7 separate regions of the Homo sapiens genome follow, and all the other regions are linked to region 1. Evidence: promoter capture Hi-C in 16 types of primary human blood cells and fetal thymus (Javierre and others, 2016). All regions are on one chromosome and are shown on one strand. The core of a region is centred on a gene start or on the middle of the fragment in contact, and the rest is flanking DNA. Distances in the headings are between cores, read along the strand shown.

What was found. The method cuts DNA at HindIII sites, captures the fragments that hold promoters and counts their contacts. A CHiCAGO score of 5 or more calls a contact.
Region 2: a fragment that was not itself captured here is called in contact with the fragment with the promoter of MRPL15 in region 1 in 1 of 17 cell types (M2 macrophages); the score reaches 5.1 in M2 macrophages.
Region 3: a fragment that was not itself captured here is called in contact with the fragment with the promoter of MRPL15 in region 1 in 1 of 17 cell types (total CD4 T cells); the score reaches 5.9 in total CD4 T cells.
Region 4: a fragment that was not itself captured here is called in contact with the fragment with the promoter of MRPL15 in region 1 in 1 of 17 cell types (non-activated CD4 T cells); the score reaches 5.5 in non-activated CD4 T cells.
Region 5: a fragment that was not itself captured here is called in contact with the fragment with the promoter of MRPL15 in region 1 in 1 of 17 cell types (naive CD8 T cells); the score reaches 8.9 in naive CD8 T cells.
Region 6: a fragment that was not itself captured here is called in contact with the fragment with the promoter of MRPL15 in region 1 in 1 of 17 cell types (non-activated CD4 T cells); the score reaches 6.6 in non-activated CD4 T cells.
Region 7: a contact is called between a fragment that was not itself captured here and the fragment with the promoter of MRPL15 in region 1, in 5 of 17 cell types (naive CD8 T cells, non-activated CD4 T cells, total CD8 T cells and 2 more). The highest score is 8.1, in naive CD8 T cells.

The regions. Positions count from the first base shown.
Region 1 is chr8:54,133,902-54,136,650 of GRCh38, reverse strand. It overlaps MRPL15 (mitochondrial ribosomal protein L15), which reads right to left and starts at 1,410. Exons shown (of 5, transcript NM_014175.4): 1 at 1,260-1,410; 2 at 1-140. The coding sequence starts at 1,367. The HindIII fragment of the contact is 13,913 bases long and covers 1-2,749 here.
Region 2 is chr8:56,007,114-56,009,862 of GRCh38, reverse strand. The region is part of intron 12 of LYN (LYN proto-oncogene, Src family tyrosine kinase); the gene reads right to left. Among named protein-coding and RNA genes, the nearest start is that of SNORD54, 65 kb to the left of the region's middle. The HindIII fragment of the contact is 2,684 bases long and covers 75-2,749 here.
Region 3 is chr8:55,767,305-55,770,053 of GRCh38, reverse strand. The region is part of intron 1 of TMEM68 (transmembrane protein 68); the gene reads left to right. Among named protein-coding and RNA genes, the nearest start is that of TMEM68, 4.7 kb to the left of the region's middle. The HindIII fragment of the contact is 6,579 bases long and covers 1-2,749 here.
Region 4 is chr8:52,640,201-52,642,949 of GRCh38, reverse strand. It overlaps RB1CC1 (RB1 inducible coiled-coil 1), which reads left to right. Exons shown (of 24, transcript NM_014781.5): 17 at 138-246; 18 at 359-599. Among named protein-coding and RNA genes, the nearest start is that of RB1CC1, 73 kb to the left of the region's middle. The HindIII fragment of the contact is 2,017 bases long and covers 417-2,433 here.
Region 5 is chr8:52,656,860-52,659,608 of GRCh38, reverse strand. It overlaps RB1CC1 (RB1 inducible coiled-coil 1), which reads left to right. Exons shown (of 24, transcript NM_014781.5): 13 at 633-736; 14 at 1,485-1,611; 15 at 1,701-2,749. Among named protein-coding and RNA genes, the nearest start is that of RB1CC1, 56 kb to the left of the region's middle. The HindIII fragment of the contact is 4,310 bases long and covers 1-2,749 here.
Region 6 is chr8:52,680,877-52,683,625 of GRCh38, reverse strand. RB1CC1 (RB1 inducible coiled-coil 1) reads left to right here. Exons shown (of 24, transcript NM_014781.5): 5 at 1-77. Among named protein-coding and RNA genes, the nearest start is that of RB1CC1, 32 kb to the left of the region's middle. The HindIII fragment of the contact is 3,785 bases long and covers 1-2,749 here.
Region 7 is chr8:52,702,636-52,705,384 of GRCh38, reverse strand. The region is part of intron 1 of RB1CC1 (RB1 inducible coiled-coil 1); the gene reads left to right. Among named protein-coding and RNA genes, the nearest start is that of RB1CC1, 10 kb to the left of the region's middle. The HindIII fragment of the contact is 8,152 bases long and covers 1-2,749 here.

The DNA of each region.
Region 1 (2,749 bases), core at 161-2,660:
AACCCGTATTTTGGGATTCGGATGTAAAATGGAGTCTGGCCTCCCTCAAAGCCCAAGCGGGGCCGGGTTCCTCTTTGCCTTTCTCCTTTATGGCCTCTGCCACATTTTCTACCTCTTCTCCGACCTCTTGGTCTTCTCTCCTGCAAGGAAAAAAAAGAATTTTATGAATTTCAGATGCATTTCTAAAAACTGCATTTCAGCTCTTCACTTTTTGTTATGCTGTTCATTCATCCAGCCCACCAGTGCTAGCTAACACTATTGTGTCAAGCATGTCCTAGTTGCTCAAAGCTCCACACACTCTGTTAGCATCTTTGCCTCTAAAGACATAGCTAATTCTTGTAACCAAAGTCCAAGTGTGTTTCAAAAGCAAAAAGTAAAGGTTAGGATGGGGATAAGGTTTTTATAATAGGTTGAAACCGAAAAAAATCCTAGAATTAAATATTCACAACATTTTAAATGATAGGCAAGAATTTATTCTGAAATTAATTGTAAATATGCAAATGTTATTCATAAACCTGTAATTTTATTTGAAAACTGATCTGTTGAAGAAAATCTTTTCCTTAATTTCCTGTCATTTCACGAAAGCAATGAACTGACTGTTAAAATGACAGTACATTGTCAACTAACAGCTTTTCTAGCTCTATTTAGTCAACTGCAGAAGGGACAGCTGCAATTCAGATCTTTCCAATGAACATAAAGATACACCGGGAAAACATTTCATTTTAAATCCAATTTTGAATGACACAAAGACTTTGTAGTTTCAGCGAGTCGGCTTCTCCGCCTGGTATCTTTACACTTGTAAACATAACCTTATTAAGAACTGGGTGCGGCCGGGGGCGGTGGCTCACGCCTGTAATCCCAGCACTTTGGGAGGCCGAGGCAGGCGGATCGCGAGCTCAGGAGTTCAAAACCAGCCTGGCCAACACGGTGAAACCACGTCTCTACTAAAAATACAAAAATTAGCCGGGCGTGATGGCGGGCGCCTGTAATCCCAGCTAATCGGGAGGCTGAGGCAGGAGAATTGCTTCTGGGCGACAGAGCAAGCCTCCGTCTCGGAAAAAAAAAAAAAAAAAAAAAAAAGAACTGGGTGCACGTGGAAAGATTCCCCTCTGGGCAGTAAGGGAGAACAGGCATGAGGCAATCCTATTTTCATCCCAACACTCTCCTAGAAAGGGCAGTTCTCCTAATGACAGGGAGAGAAGGGCCGCTTTCATCGCCCGGGTCCCCAGCGCTTCCCCGCACCGCCACCACCCATTTACCGGTTTCTTGGAGCCGGGATTCGGCTTTAAGTTGGCCAGGCTCACACGCGGCAGGCCCCGGAGTAGGTCCAGGGCCCGGGCCCCACCGCCCTGCAAGGGACCGGCCATAACCCGCAGATCCAAGAACTTTCAAGGGCGCCCTGAGCTGCTCGGAGGCCACGTGGTCTCGGGGGCTGCTTTGTGGCCGTGGCCCCGCCCCTGTCGCGCTGCAGCCGCGCGCGCAAGCCCGGGAGTCGGGCAGAGGCGTGGGAGTCTGCAACCTTGTCTCGGTTGTCCTTTTAGTTGTTTGGGGATGTGATCTTATTTTCCGAGATCCTGCTTTGTCCTCGGGGTCCCTTTTAATATTCTGAACGTAAAACCTTCTCTTTCGCCAAACGAGAGCATGCACTAAAAACACTGCGTTAAATAAAGGATCTTTTTTGAGTCAGTGTTGGGCCTTGCCTGTTTGTCTAGGCCGTGTCTTCTCTGAGGTCAATGCAGAACCCAGAGTAAAGCAAAGTGAGCTGTCAATTATTAGCTTTTGAGCTTGCGTAATTATACACCGTGAGGTACGAAAATAAAACTGAGTGCACCTATCAAAATGCCTGGCTAATAACCAATCTTTGAATAAGACTCAAAGTGTGAACTCTCATCCGTGTGCATCTGTATTGTTTTGAGTGAATCGCAGTTAGTAACCACCTATTGTTAATGACTGGCGCCATACTGAATGCCTGGTGTATGCCAGACGCTGTATTAAATAAGCCTTACTCGATTTACAGCCATTCTAGAGGTAAATGGTGTTACTACATTTTACAGTTACAACAGGGAAGGCTTAGCAAGGTCCGATAGCTTGACCAACTTCTTGCAACAAGCGGCAGAGCCAGGATTCAAACGTACACTGCTTCCTACTATAAAAGTAGTATTTTTAGAATGTAAAATTGAGTATCTGCATCACAAAATACGAACATTATTACTCGAAAAATACCAGCTCTTCTTTTTTCTCTCAAGTGACTTAAATATAGAAAAGACTGTTCCTTTCTTTTTCTTTCTTTTAGTAGTGGTTTGACATTTCACTTGCTGGGGAGTTTTTTCTGCTAGCTCTAACTAGTAATCACAAATAATGAAGGTGAGACAATTTTTGGAGGGCGTCTGTCTCTAGGTATAACTGCGTCTTTTTAAAGTTCCTTTAAATCAAGTGTAAAATAACTACATAAAGAAAAAGTTGTATTCATTCCTTCAAGTACTATTTATAAGTAAGACACTGAACTTGTTGGAAATACACATGGATGAACTCAAATAGGATTTCATTCCCAAGTTGTTTGAAATCTAGTAGGGAACAGTTTCCAAAAGTGAATTATTATTATTATTATTTTGAGACAGAGTCTCGCTCTGTTGCTTAGGCTAGAGTGCAATGGTTCAATCTCAGCTCACTGCAACCTCTGCCTCTCTGGTTCAAGCAATTCTTCCGCCTCCGCCTCCTGAGTAGCTGGGATTACAGGCGTTCACCAGCA
Region 2 (2,749 bases), core at 167-2,666, 1.9 Mb before region 1:
AAACCTGGCAGAGGGTCAAGCACTGCAGTGGTCTTTTTGCTCCTCACATCCTGTAACCATGATTGAAACAAGCTTTACTGAGGCTGTTAGGGGTTGAACAGCATCCTCCCAAAATTCCTAGGTTGAAGTCCTAACCCCGCGTACACCTCAGAATTGACAGCACCATATTTAGAGATAAGGCCTTTATAGAGGTAACTAAGTTAAAATGAGGCCATTTGGGTAGGTCTTAATCCAATATGACTAGTATCCTTATAAGAGGAGATTAGAACACAGACTAGTATAGGGGAAAGACCATGTGAAGACACAGGGAGGAGGCAGCCATCTACAAGTCCAGGAGAGAGGCCTCAGGAGAAATCAACCTGGCTAGCACCTTGACCTTGGACTTTGAAACTCCAGAACCCCGGAAAAATAAACGTCTGTTGTTTAAATTACCCAGTGTGTTGTATTGTTATGGCAGCCCTTGCCAACTAATATAGAAGCTAAGGAAATTTCTGCAAGCAACTCAATAAATAAATTTAGCATGGAGGGGATCAAGACAGCATTCAGTTTGCCAAAATTTGTTAAGTAGGAGCCACAGCCAAGTTCTCTTTAATAACAAAAGGATATTGGACTTGCCTCACATTTCAAATAAATCACCCAAATCTAATCCTAACTCTCAACTTTAATTATGTTTGCAGGGTAGCATGCTTTCAGCTTCAACTTGTAGTATATTTATGAAAAAAATAATTTTACCACATATTATCTTATACGGACATTTTTCAAAAATTGGCTTTTCATTTAATAATTGGTATTTTCATTTACTTAAAGTCAGCACCCTTAAGTCAGCCCAACAAATTGGTTACATGCTTGCCAAATAGTTAAAAACTTAGGGATTAATTTGGAAAATAATGATGGTTCAGTTAATCTGAAGGACACTTGTCTGTAGTTTGTGCTACATATCTTGTGGATGTCACTGTCTTTTAAGAGCAAGATATTAATTGAGGAGGAAAACTGAACCCCAATCATAGTCTCAAGTGGAGCTACTTCACAGACGCAGTTAACTGTTCCAATCTGCAGTACCTGGCCAGAGTGACAGCTCACTCTGACTCTGGATTTGCATATTCCTGACCTCCAGGAGAGAAGTAAGGTGCTCATTACTCCTCTAGAGCTCTGCAAAAGGCCTGGTAATAGAGAATGTTTTTAATGTGGTCAAATGTCTCAGGGTAATTCAGAAGCTGAACTGTCAATCTTTGATCCTGAGAATAGCTTTAAAGGGTAAAAAAGATCATTATAATAATAACATTTTCCTGCATGATAAAGGAGATTAATCCTTCAATTATGTGCTCATCTAGCAGTATCTATCCACACCTGTATGTTTTGCATATTTCATGGATACCCTGTTCTGTAGGATGTGAACTTCTCTAGAGAAGAATGTATGTCATGCAAAGTATATACAATATCTGGCATATGAGAGGGGCTCCATTCCTCACAACGAATTTCCTTTCCATAGCTATCTCTTTTTCAAAGCTGTAGATTATACCATCACTGGTCACTGGAAGGATTCTAAATAAGTGGCAGCTTCAGGGGAAATGGCTTTTTACCAGATTTGAAACAGAACCTTCTTTTGAATGTATTTTCTAATCAGTGTTTTTCAAATTGCGGGGCACTATCCGCATTTGGGATCAACAATTTGGGATCAACAAATTGACTTTTTTAGAGTACTACCAGTATTTTATTTTATTTTATTTTATTTTATTTTTTTTTTGAGGCAGAGTCTCCCTCTTTCACCTAGGCTGGAGTGCAGTGGAGCGATCTTGGCTCACTGCAACCTCCGCCTCCCAGGTTCAAGCGATTCTCCTGCCTCAGCCTCCCAAGTAGCTGGGATTACAGGTGCCCACTACCATGCCCGGCTAATTTTTGTATTTTTAGTAGAGACGGGGTTTCACCATGTTGGCCAGGCTGGTCTCAAACTCCTGACCTGAAGTCGTCTGCCTGTCTCGGCCTCCCAAAGTGCTGGATTAAAAGCGGGAGCCACTGCATCCAGCCAATTACCAGTATTTTTTAAAATGAATTATAACAGAATAAAACAGAAAAGGTCAGAAAGCACTGCACATAGGAAAGGTCAATATGGTTTTATGAAACGTTTGCTTTATGTACAGAGTAGGTTTCTATGTATTTCCCACAATGGCTTATGGCCAATAAACTTTGAGATCCTCTGCCTTTAACTTACCTTTTTTCATCTAAGGACACAGTGACCTTTCCTGAATTTAAACCGCTGAAAGAAGACATGATCATTTCTGTCGTGGAAGAGCCCTTGTTTTTGAAATTGAAAGATCTAAGCAAACTTTATAATGATTCAGATCTCTTGAGAATTTATACAGCAAATCCATTTTCCTGAGTCTAATTCTGAAACACTATCTTCAAATATTTGTGTGACTAGAATTTTCTAACTAAAATACTTCATTTGATTTTCATTGCTTAAAGCGAAAGACAGATTTGTATCATCCTCTTTATTTGGGAGTTTTAGTCTCCACAAAATGATATGGCCTCAGCATTGCTCTGGCTCTTATAACTTGGATAAATTTCAGAAGAAAGATTTGTGTATACTTCTGCTTTCTTGGGTGAAATTCTGGGATCGTGGTGGGAGGACTAACATCCAGTATGATATAAATAGCAATTGGACCTGCACACTCAGTTTGGAATATCTCTTTCACTTCCTTCCTGGAGATCCCTCATTTGCATAAAAGGTCAGAATGCAGCCACAGTGGAA
Region 3 (2,749 bases), core at 169-2,668, 1.6 Mb before region 1:
CAAAAGTAAGTGCTACATTTTATCTACTGAAAGGCATTTTATTCAAATTCCTCTGATAGTTCTCTAGTAGCAGGTTTTAGGATACTGTTTTGATCCAGATTTCTGTTAAAGATTTAGATGAGGCCAAGCAGGGTGGCTCACGCCTGCAATCCGAGCACTTTGGAAGGTGGAGGCGGGCGGATCACTTGAGGCCAGGAGTTCCAGACAAGCCTGGCCAACATGGCAAAACCCCATCTCTACTAAAAATACAAAAATTAGCTGGGTGCAGTGGTGCTTGCCTGTAGTCCCAGCTACACGGGAGGCTGAGGTATGAGAACTGCTTGAGCCTGGGAGGTGGAGGTTGCAGTGAGCTGAAATCGAGCCACTGCAGTCCAGCCTGGGTGACAGAGTGAGACTCTGTCTCAAAAAAAAAAAGTTTTAGACGAACACAGTTCAGTTGTATATTTAGCCAGCATTTGTTAGGTGCCTACTATGTGCCAGAAAGTAAGTGTTTTTCGTATGTTTTCTTAGATAACTATTTTATTTACTGATATATTTAGAATAGTATCTGGCACAAACTTCTCAGGGCCATCCACTTGTACATTGTATCCTGTCCCCTTTGGCCTAGTCAAGGACAGAGCTCTAACAATTATCTCCTCTCCTACATCATCTGTTTCTCACTCCCATTGATGAATTATCGTTGACATTGAACATGGGTGTATTTTCTCCTATCTTTTTTTTTTTTTTTTTTTGAGATGGGATTCTCATTCTGTCCCTGAGGCTGGAGTGCACTGTCAGAATCTCGGCTTATATAACCTCTGCCTCCCGGGTTCAAGCAATTCTAGTGCCTCAGCCTCCCAAGTAGCTGAGACTACAGGTATGCACCATGATGCCTGGCTAATTTTTGTGTTTTTAGTAGAGACGGCATTACCATGTTGGCCAGGCTGGTCTCAAACTCCTGACCTGAAGTGATCCACCCGCCTTGGCCTCCCAAAGTGCTGGGATTACAGGCATGAACCACTGTGCCTGGCCCTTTTTTTTTTTTTTTTTTTTTTTAAAGACAGAGTCTCTTGCTCTTTCACTGAGGCTGGAGTGCAGTGGCTTGATCATTACTCACTGCAGCTTCTACCTCCCAGGCTCAAGTGATCCTCCCCCTTCAGCCTCCCAAGTGGCTGGGATCATTGGTACATGTCACCATGCCCGGCTAATTTTTAATTTTTTTTTCTTTTTGAGCAGAGTCTCACTCTGTTGTCCAGGCTGGAGTGCAGTGGCATGATCTCGGCTCACTGCACTCTCCACCTCCTGGGTTCAAGCCATTCTTGTGCATCAGCCTCCCGAGTAGCTGAGATTACAGGAATGCATCACCACACCTGGCTAATTTTTGCATTTTTAGTAGAGATGGGGTTTCACTGTGTTGCCCAGGCTGGTCTTGAACTCCTGGCCTCAAGTGATCTGCCCCTACTTGGCCTCCCAAAGTGTTGGGATTACAGGTGTGAGCCACCGCACCTGGCCTAAATTTTTTTTTTAGAGATGAGTTTTTACTATATTGCCTGGCTGGTCTTGAACTTCTGGTTTCAAGCGATCCTCTTGCCTCAGTCTCCCAAAGTGCTGAGATTACAGGTGTGAGTTACCATGCCTGGCCTCTGTCTTAAAGCAACAGCTGCAGCAGCAGCAGCAAGGAACAACTCACCTGTGTTCCCTTCTAGATACCCACCTGTTTCTTTCCTCCTTTGTGAGTTTTTATATTTGCTGTTTCCAATTCATTTTCTCCCATTCATTCTTGAACTTCAAGGGTAAAGGGGAGCTGCTTCTGTCCTCTCCTGTCCAAAGTGTTTTGTTTCCTACTATACAAAAACAGCTCTTACCAGGGTTTGCCAGTTTCCTTTGTGTTGTAAAATCCAGTGATCAATTATCATTTTTTTTTTTTTTTTAAAGCTGTCTCCTACAGGAAGGAAGTGATCTCTTACCTTACTAGGCCTGTCAACAGCATTTAAAACAGCAGAATATGCCTTCCTTCTTGAAGCTCTTACTTCCAGGATACTGCTTCTGCAAGGAGGAGGCTGGCTTGCCATTGTCTTCCCAACTTCTAAAATGTTGGGTGCCTCAAGACTCAGTCCTGGAAATTCTTTTTTTTTTTTGAGACTGAGTTTCGCTGTTGTTGCCCAGGCTGGAGTGCAGTGGCATGATCTCGGCTCACTGCACCTCCGCCTCCCAGGTCCAAGCGATTCTCCTGCCTCAGCCTCCCAAGTAGTTGGGACTATAGGCGTGCGACACCACGCCCGGCTAATTTTGTATTTTTGGTAGAGACGGGGTTTCTCCATGTTGGTCAGGCTGGTCTCGAACTCCTAACCTCAGGTGATCCTCCCGCCTCGGCCTCCCAAAGTGCTGGGTTTACAGGTGTGAGCCACTGTGCCTGGCCAGAAATTCTTTTTTACTCTATATTCGTTCCCTGGAGGGATCTTCTCTAGTTCCATGGTTTTAAATATTGTCTATATGCTACCAATTCCTAGATTTATATCAGGGCCATCCACTTATACCCTGTATCCTCCTCCTGATCTTCCTGCTAAACTGCTGATGTCCGGCTGCCTACTTAATGTCTTCACTTGGATGTCCAATAGACATCTTAAACTTAACATGTTTAAAATGGAATTCCTGATCTCCATCCCACCCTCAAACCTGTTCTTCCTGCAACTCTTATTTTTTCACAAGCAAGCGAATAATAATGATGATAGCAATAGTTAATGCTTATATGTGATAAGCATTAACTATG
Region 4 (2,749 bases), core at 176-2,675, 1.5 Mb after region 1:
TAAAACATTTCATGAATCATACCCCATCATCTCCATGTACAAATGTGCCACAGAAAAGAATATTTGCAAGTGTATTTTCTAAGTCCTAGCTGCTAAGTACATGTAGATAAATTTAAATAATTATTCTCTTGTTCCAGACCAATTTTAACACTGTTTTAACAAGAGAGAAAATGAGAAAAGAAAACATAATAAATGATCTTAGTGATAAGTTGAAAAGTACAATGCAGCAACAAGAACGGGATAAAGGTTTGTACTGTTTTGTACTATTTTTTTTAATTTTTTAAAGTGGAAAAGATACATTCATGCAAAGTGGTTTTTTTAATTACATGATACTTTTTTAAATTTGGGTGTCCTTCAGATTTGATAGAGTCACTTTCTGAAGATCGAGCTCGTTTGCTTGAGGAAAAGAAAAAGCTTGAAGAAGAAGTCAGTAAGTTGCGTAGTAGCAGTTTTGTTCCTTCACCATATGTAGCTACAGCCCCAGAACTTTATGGAGCTTGTGCACCTGAACTCCCAGGTGAATCAGATAGATCCGCTGTGGAAACAGCAGATGAAGGAAGAGTGGATTCAGCAATGGAGACAAGCATGATGTCTGTACAGTAAGTATGGCTGTTTTCAACTGTTTTTAAGGCTGTTGCAATTCCATGAGTTATAAAGCTCTGAAGAGAGGAAATATTTTTAGCATTACTGGTTGTCCACAGCCCATGTATCTGAAAGTTGTGCTATTTTAATTCTTTAAACTGTAAGTGTGAGAAAACATTACTGAATGAATTATTTTGGGGTACTCTCATACTATACAAAGTATGTGCACCAGAATTATCCCATACTGCCAAGATAAGGATCATGGCAGTAGTATTGAGCCATTCTTATTTACAGGGAATGTTGACATTTTGGGGTCCATTACCTATAAAGGGGTTATTGTAGTAATGAATATATTCATTTTGGTGAGGAAAAGCAGGGAAGGGTTTTTTATTATTATTATTATTATTTGTTTATTCATATATAGCAAATGTTTACTGCATTACATTGAAATCGTGGCAGAGCTTACTGGAATTTAGAACTTTCTTACCAGTTCTCCTTTGAATATAGTGAAAGACCACTAAAATTGTGCTTACAATTATATCTATGGGAGAGACAGAATTGGGAGGAGAAAGTGCTCCTCTCCAAAGGACGTTGCAAGTAGAGTTTGCATTTCTAGTTGCACCTCTGGGATTTCAGATATGGGAACTGAGATTCCAAGGGCAGAAAGTCCAGATCATTATGCCACACAAAGAATTATGCCCAGTGGGTCAGTGAACACTACACCCCCATGTGAGATGAAGTAATTCGAACAAGTGATTACCAAAAGATATCATAGAATCAGCGTGGTCCCCTCGTTCAAACAGATCCAGGTTCAAGTCCTGAGTCTAGCACCTGCTTGGGAACTTGAGCAAGTCATCATCCCTTATTTTTCCATCAAGATAACAGTTATGATAACAAGACAACAGTTATGATACACCAGCAGGGTTGCTTTGGGCATTAATATTTTATTTTATTTTATTTTAATTTTTTTTTTTTTTTTTTTTGAGATGAAGTCTCACTCTTATCCCCCAGGGTGGAGTGTGATGGCACAATCTCGGCTCACTGCAACCTCCGCCTCCTGGGTTCAAGTGATTCTTCTGCCTTAGCCTCCTGAATAGCCGGGATTACAGGCGCCTGCCACCACGCCTGGCTAATTTTTGTATTTTTAGTAGAGACGGGGTTTCACCATGTTGGACAGGCTGGTCTCGAACTCCTGACCTCAGGTGATCCACTCACCTCAGCCTCCCAAAGTGCTGGGATTACAGGTGTGAGTCATCGCGCCCGGCCAGGCATTAAATTTAATGAGCACCCGTGAGAAGGTGTGGTACACAGTAAGAAACCAGTAAGTGCAGGGTCCTTCGTACCCCACCCCTGCCCACTCAGAGGAACGCAGTTAGTTGCATCTTCATATAAGCCCATTATCTGCCTGACCTTTGAGAAACTTTGGTAGGGGAGTTTTTTGTTTGTTTGTTTTTGAAAAATAAAATTACTTAGGTTTCTGTCTGGTTGAAAGGAAAATAATAGAAACTGGTTACCTTTAGACTTTGAAAGGTATAAGGCTTAAGAATGTATATTAAAAATAAAATAGAACAAAAAAAGTAATTCAAAAAAGCAAATCAAGAAAACATGGTTAAGCAAATCAAGAAAACATGGTTATTTAGCAAACATGAATGACATAAATATGTCCGGACATGTGTGAAAAAAGTGAACCACCGTATGAAAACCTCTTTAAAAAAATATATCCAACTTCATTCTACATATAGGAGAGGTACCTAGAGCCAAATGATACAGAAAGTTTACTATAATATGATTCAGAAAGATATAGAAGGGAAAAATATAAAAGCAATTCAAAGCAAAAGGCTTTAAAAAGCTTTAGGAATTTAAGGCTTTTTTGATTGACACATAAATTATACATATTTATGGTTTACAGTGTGATGTAGTTACATGTGTACATTCAAATTAGAGTAATCCATCACCTCAAACGTTTATCATTTCTTTATGGTGAGAACATTCAAAATGCTCTTTTCTAGCTATTTTGAGATAGCGCAGTACATTATTGAACACCAAAACTTATTCCTCCTATCTGGCTGTAGCTTTGTACCCGTTGACCAACCTCTCCTCATCTCCTCTCCTCTGTACTCTCCCCAGCCTCTGGTAACCACTATTCTGCTCTCTGCCTCCATGAGAT
Region 5 (2,749 bases), core at 77-2,576, 1.5 Mb after region 1:
TTATCCGAGAACTCTTTTTTATGAAGAGCATCTTGGCATCTCCACATCTGCTTGAGTAATGATTTAAAACAAGTTTTTTTTTAATGCAACTCTTGGCAATTTTATAAATAATGAATTGGTAGGATTTACCGGTTAATATTTTTTACAGAAGCTAAAATTGACCAAAACTTTGTCTTCTGGAAAATGTAATGGAAAAGTCAAGGCAAAAGCAAATAAGAAAGTGTTACATGGAAAAAAAATACATGTGTGCATTTTAATATATTAGTGGCTTTAACATGGTAAATATTATATATATACGCACACACTTACATATGTGTTTACCATATGTATATGTACATACATACACATACAGGATAGGAATATTGTAATTCCCATAAAATGATGCTAAAAGCAGAGAAGGGGAGGAACAAGTGCATCCCTTGATCACTAGCAGTTCACGTCGCAGTTTACTAAAGGCTCAGGAAAATAATATGCCATATCTTTATTGAATGGTCTTTTTTTGTTTCTTAATCATTTAAAGCACTTTAGTTTGTTTGGTATAGTAAATTTAATTATAGTAAGAAATCATATAAATTTGCTGTCTGTTTTTGGTTGAAAAAAAATTTTTTAAGTAATTAATTTTTTTGGTACAGACTCAAAAGCCTCGAAAGTTTGACTGTGAACTTCCAGATATTTCATTAAAAGATTTACAGTTTCTGCAATCATTTTGTCCTTCGGAAGTTCAGCCATTCCTCAGGTAAATGTCATTAGTATTTTCAGTTAATTTATAACCTTAAAATGTTTTTATTATTCTGGAGTTGTGCCAGGTAGTACCAGTAATCTTAAGAGGTGCCAAGATAAGAAATATTTAAGATAGACTGGCTTTCCTGTGACTGCTTTGAGAAATTTCTGGGGAATAAAAAATGATGGAAAATGAAGGTAAAGTAAAGGAAGACATGCCTTACATGTAATTATTTTTTTCTAGTAGTTACTTTTTGCATGCTGTTGGGAAATTTCTGACTTTTTACTTTTTTTTTTTTTTTTTTTTTTCTTGAGACGGAGTCTCGCTCTCTCGCCCAGGCTGGAGTGCAATGGTGTGATACTGGCTCACTGCAACCTTCACCTCCCATGTTCCAGCAGTTCTCCTGCCTCAGCCTCCTGAGTAGCTGGGATTACAGGAGCCCACCACCATGCCCTGCTAATTTTTGTATTTTTAGTAGAGATGTGGTTTCACCATGTTGGCCAGGCTGGTCTCGAACTCCTGACCTCATGATCCACCCGCCTAGGCCTCCCAAAGTGCTTGGATTATAGGTGTGATCCACCACGCCCGGCCCTAAGTTTTTACTTTACTGATTATGACACAAACTTCTTAAAATACTTCTGGTATTAATTTAAAAAGGAATGATAAGGCTCTTGTTATTTTTGACATATTAAAATATTTGGTAGCAGTTATCTACTAGTTCATTAAAAAATCAGAAGTCTAATTGCATTGCATTCTGTTTCAGGGTTCCCTTACTTTGTGACTTTGAACCTCTACACCAGCATGTACTTGCTCTACATAATTTGGTAAAAGCAGCACAAAGTTTGGATGAAATGTCACAGACCATTACAGATCTACTGAGTGAACAAAAGGCAAATTCAATTCTTTCAAACAGTTTTCTTCATTAGTGTAAAATGTTTGTGTTCCTGCAGCTCTTTAAGCCTTTCTTTCTGTTTTCCAGGCATCTGTGAGTCAGACATCCCCACAGTCTGCTTCTTCACCAAGGATGGAAAGTACAGCAGGAATTACAACTACTACCTCACCGAGAACTCCTCCACCACTGACTGTTCAGGATCCCTTATGTCCTGCAGTTTGTCCCTTAGAAGAATTATCTCCAGATAGTATTGATGCACATACGTTTGATTTTGAAACTATTCCCCATCCAAACATAGAACAGACTATTCACCAAGTTTCTTTAGACTTGGATTCATTAGCAGAAAGTCCTGAATCAGATTTTATGTCTGCTGTGAATGAGTTTGTAATAGAAGAAAATTTGTCGTCTCCTAATCCTATAAGTGATCCACAAAGCCCAGAAATGATGGTGGAATCACTTTATTCATCAGTTATCAATGCGATAGACAGTAGACGAATGCAGGATACAAATGTATGTGGTAAGGAGGATTTTGGAGATCATACTTCTCTGAATGTCCAGTTGGAAAGATGTAGAGTTGTTGCCCAAGACTCTCACTTCAGTATACAAACCATTAAGGAAGACCTTTGCCACTTTAGAACATTTGTACAAAAAGAACAGTGTGACTTCTCAAATTCATTAAAATGTACAGCAGTAGAAATAAGAAACATTATTGAAAAAGTAAAATGTTCTCTGGAAATAACACTAAAAGAAAAACATCAAAAAGAACTACTGTCTTTAAAAAATGAATATGAAGGTAAACTTGACGGACTAATAAAGGAAACTGAAGAGAATGAAAACAAAATTAAAAAATTGAAGGGAGAGTTAGTATGCCTTGAGGAGGTTTTACAAAATAAAGATAATGAATTTGCTTTGGTTAAACATGAAAAAGAAGCTGTAATCTGCCTGCAGAATGAAAAGGATCAGAAGTTGTTAGAGATGGAAAATATAATGCACTCTCAAAATTGTGAAATTAAAGAACTGAAGCAGTCACGAGAAATAGTGTTAGAAGACTTAAAAAAGCTCCATGTTGAAAATGATGAGAAGTTACAGTTATTGAGGGCAGAACTTCAGTCCTTGGAGCAAAGTCATCTAAAGGA
Region 6 (2,749 bases), core at 116-2,615, 1.5 Mb after region 1:
TGGAAATAAAAGTTGAAGAATCTCTTATGATGCCTGCAGTTTTTCATACTGTTGCTTCAAGGACACAGCTTGCATTGGTAAGATATAAACAATTATTTTAACTGATTGTTTCTAAAAGCATTCGGATCTAAATAGCACAGTAGTCTAAATTGCATAGGAAGTATGCAAAAAGTTTGACAAATAAACTTTAAAAATATTTTCCGGTTAATATATCTAGTTTTAAAATTTCTGGGTCATACATTGCTAGTTATTCTACTTTGATAATGACAGTATTTTAGAGTGGAAAAGCTGTCTTAACATGATTTGGTCACCTTCTTTCCTAGATAATATGTAAATAGTTACTTTTGAACATTAATTAATAAAGGACCTACGTTAGAGTAGATGTTAACAAAGAGAACTTAAATAGCTCTAAAAATGTATTTATTTTTTCCATATTTGTGGTTAGTTCCTGGAGGAGAATTAGGTTTCTTTCTAATATATAGCTCTTAACACTGCTACTTGCAGTTCCCACGGATTGTTTCCCAGTCATTTGATTTTCCTTTTTAATTTACTATTTACCTTCTAGTAATATCATTGACATTAAGCTATCAGTGGTAAGCTACATTTTTCTTTTAATCATGGAAAAAATGTGTTAGAACCAATGAAATAATAGTATTTACCTTTTGTAAAAATAAATAACATTACTGAACATTAGCTTTAATTAGTAAAACTCTTAGAGATTTGTTTTAAGCAGTATATACATTTGTACAAATACCCCCATTTTTCACATAGGATACAACATTAAAAGGAAATAACCTCATCTGTGTGAAACATATTTAATAAACATTTGAGAGTCCAAAAGTGCTTTGAGAGGACAAAATTTTAAAAAATATACTTATGTAAACTGAATTTACATAATAGAATCTTTTAGAGTTGTTTTTTTGATTTGGTTGAAAAGTGTACATACTACATTTTGATAGAGAAAGTATTAAATATGAAAATAAGTTAAAGGATAACTAGGATATATAATTTTCAAGTGATTAGAAAGAGCAATTAAAACTATATTCAACGAAAGAATGAAAACAAGAAAGTAAAAAGAAAAGATAAAATGTCAGAAATACGTATATCAGGAATTAAATATAAGCTGGCATTATTTCTCTTTTAATGCATCATATTTAAAATATTTTTTAAATACATAAATAGTAATCTGAGATTCAGATACCAAGCATTCTATATCAGTCTGTTTTCATGCTGCTGATAAAGACATAACCCGAGCCTGGGACGAAAAAGAGGTTTAATTGGACTTAACAGTTCCTCGTGGCTGAAGAGGCCTCGGAATTATGGCAGGAGGCGAAAGGTGAAATTGGCCAAAACAAAGGGGTTACAGGTCCCATGCAAGTTCGAAATCCAGCATGGCAGCCAAGTTTTGAAGCTCCAAAATCATCTCCTTTGACTCCAGGTCTCACATCTAGGTCTCACTAATACAAGAGGTGGGTTCCCATGGACTTGGGGCAGCTCTGTCCCTGTGGCTTTGCAGGGTGCAGCCTCCCTCCCGGCTGCTTTCACAGGCTGGCGTTGTGTCTGTGGCTTTTCCAGGTGCACAGTGCAAGCTGTTGGTGGGTCTTCCATTCTGGGGTCTGGAGGACCGTGACCCTCTTCTCAGAGCTCCACTAGGGAGTGCCCCCAGTAGGGACTCTGTGTGGGGGCTCCGACCCCACATTTTCCTTCTACACTGCCCTAACAGGTTCTCCATGAGGGCCCTGCCCCTGCAGCAAACTTACCTGGGCATCTAGGCGTTTCCGTACATCTTCTGAAATCTAGGCGGTGGTTCCCCAACGTCAACTTGTCATTTACATTAGGTATTTTATTGACTTATTATATAGAGACAGGATCTCACTGCGTTGCCGAGGTTGGTCTCAAACTCCTGGGCTCAAATGATCCTCCTGTCTTGGCCTCCCTAAGTGCTGGGATTATAGGCGTGAATCAGCATACCTGGCCTCTTTTCAGATTTATAAAATACATTGAGCCACCATGCCTGCCCTCTTTTCAGATTTATAAAACAAATTCTAAAGCTGCTATAACCAAAACAGTAACATAGGTCTAATCAATTCATTATGTGAGGAATTAGAGGTGATATTTCTTCATGGTCCGGGATGTGGTCTCTAAAGTCAGATTTTCTGAGTTTATGTCTGATTACTTCATTTACCTGTGGTGTGACCTTTTACTCATTTACCTTATTGGTAAATTTAAGAATAGATTTTTGTTTATTGAGATATACTGAAAAATGCACAAACCATAATTGTACATCCATTCTTAGTGAATTTTCACAATGAACACATTGATAAAAATAGTTTCAGGTGTGGTAGCTTATGCCTGTAATCCCAGCACTTTGGGAGGCCAAGGCAGGCGGATCATGAGGTCAGGAGTTTGAGACCAGCCTGACTAATATGGTGAAACCCTGTCTCTACTTAAAAAAAAAATGCAAAAATTAGCCGGGCATGCTGGCATGTGCCTGTAGTCCCAGCTGCTCGGGAGGCTGAGGTAGGAGAATTGCTTGAACCCAGGAGGCAGAGGTTGCAGTGAGCCAAGATCGCACCACTGCACTCCAGCCTGTGTGACAGAGTGAGACTTCATCTCAAAAAAAAAAAAAAACACACACACACACACACACACACACAAAACCCCACAAAAACAAATAGTTTCAACCCAGAAGCCCTACTTAGGACTTTCTCCCCATCAGTTTTCATCCTCCCTGTTCATTAATGCTAAC
Region 7 (2,749 bases), core at 182-2,681, 1.4 Mb after region 1:
TTCTCATTAGTGAATATGTACCTCCAGATAGTTTATTTTTCTTCATGCTATGGATAGCCATTTGTCATAATACCATTGCATGAAAAGTTGATCCTTTCTCCCCAATTTGAAATCCCACCATTATTGTATAGATACACAAGTGCAGGTATGCATGTATAAAGATCAATTTGGATCTGTTCAGTTTCATGCATTATGTTTATTAATGCATCATGATTCCTACTAACTTGTTAACTACCGTGTGAGTTATGAGTATGTTTGACATGTTTTGACAGTTGTTCTGTCCTACGAAGTCTCAGTATATATGGTAGGCAGTTTATAGTAATTCTTAGTGGGTAGAAACTAAAGACTGTTTAAGCAGAGGGTCAAATAATTTAAGAAAATCTTGTGTCAGTTGTTGAGTTACTAACCTGTTACTTTTAATTTAGAATTGGCTTGTGTTAACTTGTATAGTATTAAATATGGTTTCATTTTATAAAAGTTAAGAAGGACTTTATATAAAATGAGCATCAAGTCAGATTTTAGGAAATCGTGACTATTTGGTGAAAAGTAATACTTATGTACTAGGCTTATTTATATAAGGCTTATAAAGTTACTTTATAATTCCTTGAATAGCAGTTGATTTCTGTGCTTGTACCTTACTTAACAATTACATGCAATAACTTTAGTTCTAGATCATAGAGAGTCAACCCACTTACAGGATTTAATGGACTTTACGTAAATTAGGGGTACATGTACATAATAAGCATTCCCAAAGTTGCAAGTTAATAAAAGAATTAGCTCCTTTTAATGATTGTTTTCTTAAAAGAAATCATTGGTTTATTAAGTTTATCCTCTTAAGTTTTAGTAATGTGATCAGTGAGGGTAAACTGTCAGTTTCTAGTTGGAACTTGATTTTACATATACTTTTGTGTTTTTTTTTTTTTTTTTTTAATGTCACCTTTGTGTGAATTCTTGTCCATTCTTTCTCAGTCTAACTTTTGCATACCTCTCTTCATATTAGTATTATTGAACTTTTTGGAAGGCAGGTAATGTGCTTTTTATTACTTTTTGGCACTAACACACAATAAGTTTCTTAAAATTAGTATTTGTTCAGTGTGTTAGACTCATGTTTAATGTATGATTTGACTATTTATAGAAGATCAGAAGAATAATCTAGTGTACCCCTTTATGTTTTAAGATGACGAAACTGAGATTCAGAGAAATTGGATAACTCCTGAAATCACAGGAGTAAAGATGTGAAGCTAGGACTAAAAACCAGATCTCTTATTTCTTTCCAAGTATTTTTTATTTCAGGGTGACCAAATATGTACTTGGTTACTGATGTCCCTTTTTGCTGAATGTTTTTTAACAATTGTGGCATACAAAGGAGAGAATTCAGTTTCATGGGATCATGTTATTTTGATAGCATATAGGAGTATGTAACATAAAGTATACAGTCTTGTGAATAAATAGCGACAGTGTTCCTGTGGATTCTCTCTGAGCAACTTTCTGATTTCAGTTTTGGTTGCCGTAGTCCTTATCCATGGTTTTGACCGCAAACATTTATTGACTGTTTACTGTCTCTAGGTAGTATGTTAGGTATTGAGGTATGATATGTCATGACCAAAATTTTTTTTAGCCATTTGCAATACAGCTTGGGCGATGTAAGTTATTTGGCAAGTGGCAAAAAAGTGTAGCAGGGCATTTATTTATGTTCTGAATACCAACACTTACTTGAATAGTTGGAATTTGAAGTATGGGCTGTCAGTACTTCAGGAACAAGACCACTGACAGCCAGTACATTGAGGAAGACTTTACGACAGAATATTTGTGAATTCTTGGTTACATAATGGAAGCTGTGGAATGACATGAGTAGAGGCATGAAAATCCATTTATTCATGCACCTCATTTCAGGAGATCAGCCTAAATGGTATGGAGCTTCATGTAGGGACCCAAATAAAGGAAATAGTGGAGTGTCAGTCTAAGGAATTTATACTTGAGTAGAAGTTATGAAGCATTTTTAGTTTGGGGAGAAGTAAACATTAAAAGAATCTAAGATTATGTAGTTGGTGGTGTCATCTGAGATGGAATCTGCAGATAGTAGGTGCTCAGATAGGTAATTGTTAGAGCCCGATATGCAGTAGGAAGATCTGAATTAGATAGCTTAATGGGAATAAGGTGGAAGAGAGGATACACATACTTAGTAACTGTTTATGTGGAACCAAGGAGTACTTATTCATATATGATGTTAAAATATATTAAACCAAGTTGATTACTTTTTTTTTTTTAATATAAGATACTGGGAACACATTGGCTGATAAAGAAACTGCTGAAAATTAGCTACCTGCATGTGATCTCTCTCTGTTACTAAGTTACTATTTGGATTCTGCTTTGTCATTTGCTTAGAGTACTGCTACTAGAACCCCAAGAGTACATTTGCTTATGAAACCCTGTTTATTCAACAGATGCTTTTGAGTGCTTTGTGTTATGTCACAGAGTTACTTCCTGTCCCTAGAGAACATTTTGGGAATATTTACTGTGATTTCTTTTTTTTTTCTGCAACAGCCATATGAGGTAGGTATGATAAATATCCCCATTTACAGATTAGAGAATGGAAATTTAGACAGACATGTATTGATGAAGAAAGTTGTTTTCTTGTTTTATCTACATTTTTTTCTTCTTCTTTTCTTTTTTTTTGAGTCTCACTCTGCCAACCAGCTGGAATGCAGTGGCATGCTCTCGGCTCACTGCAACCTCCACCTGCCGGGTG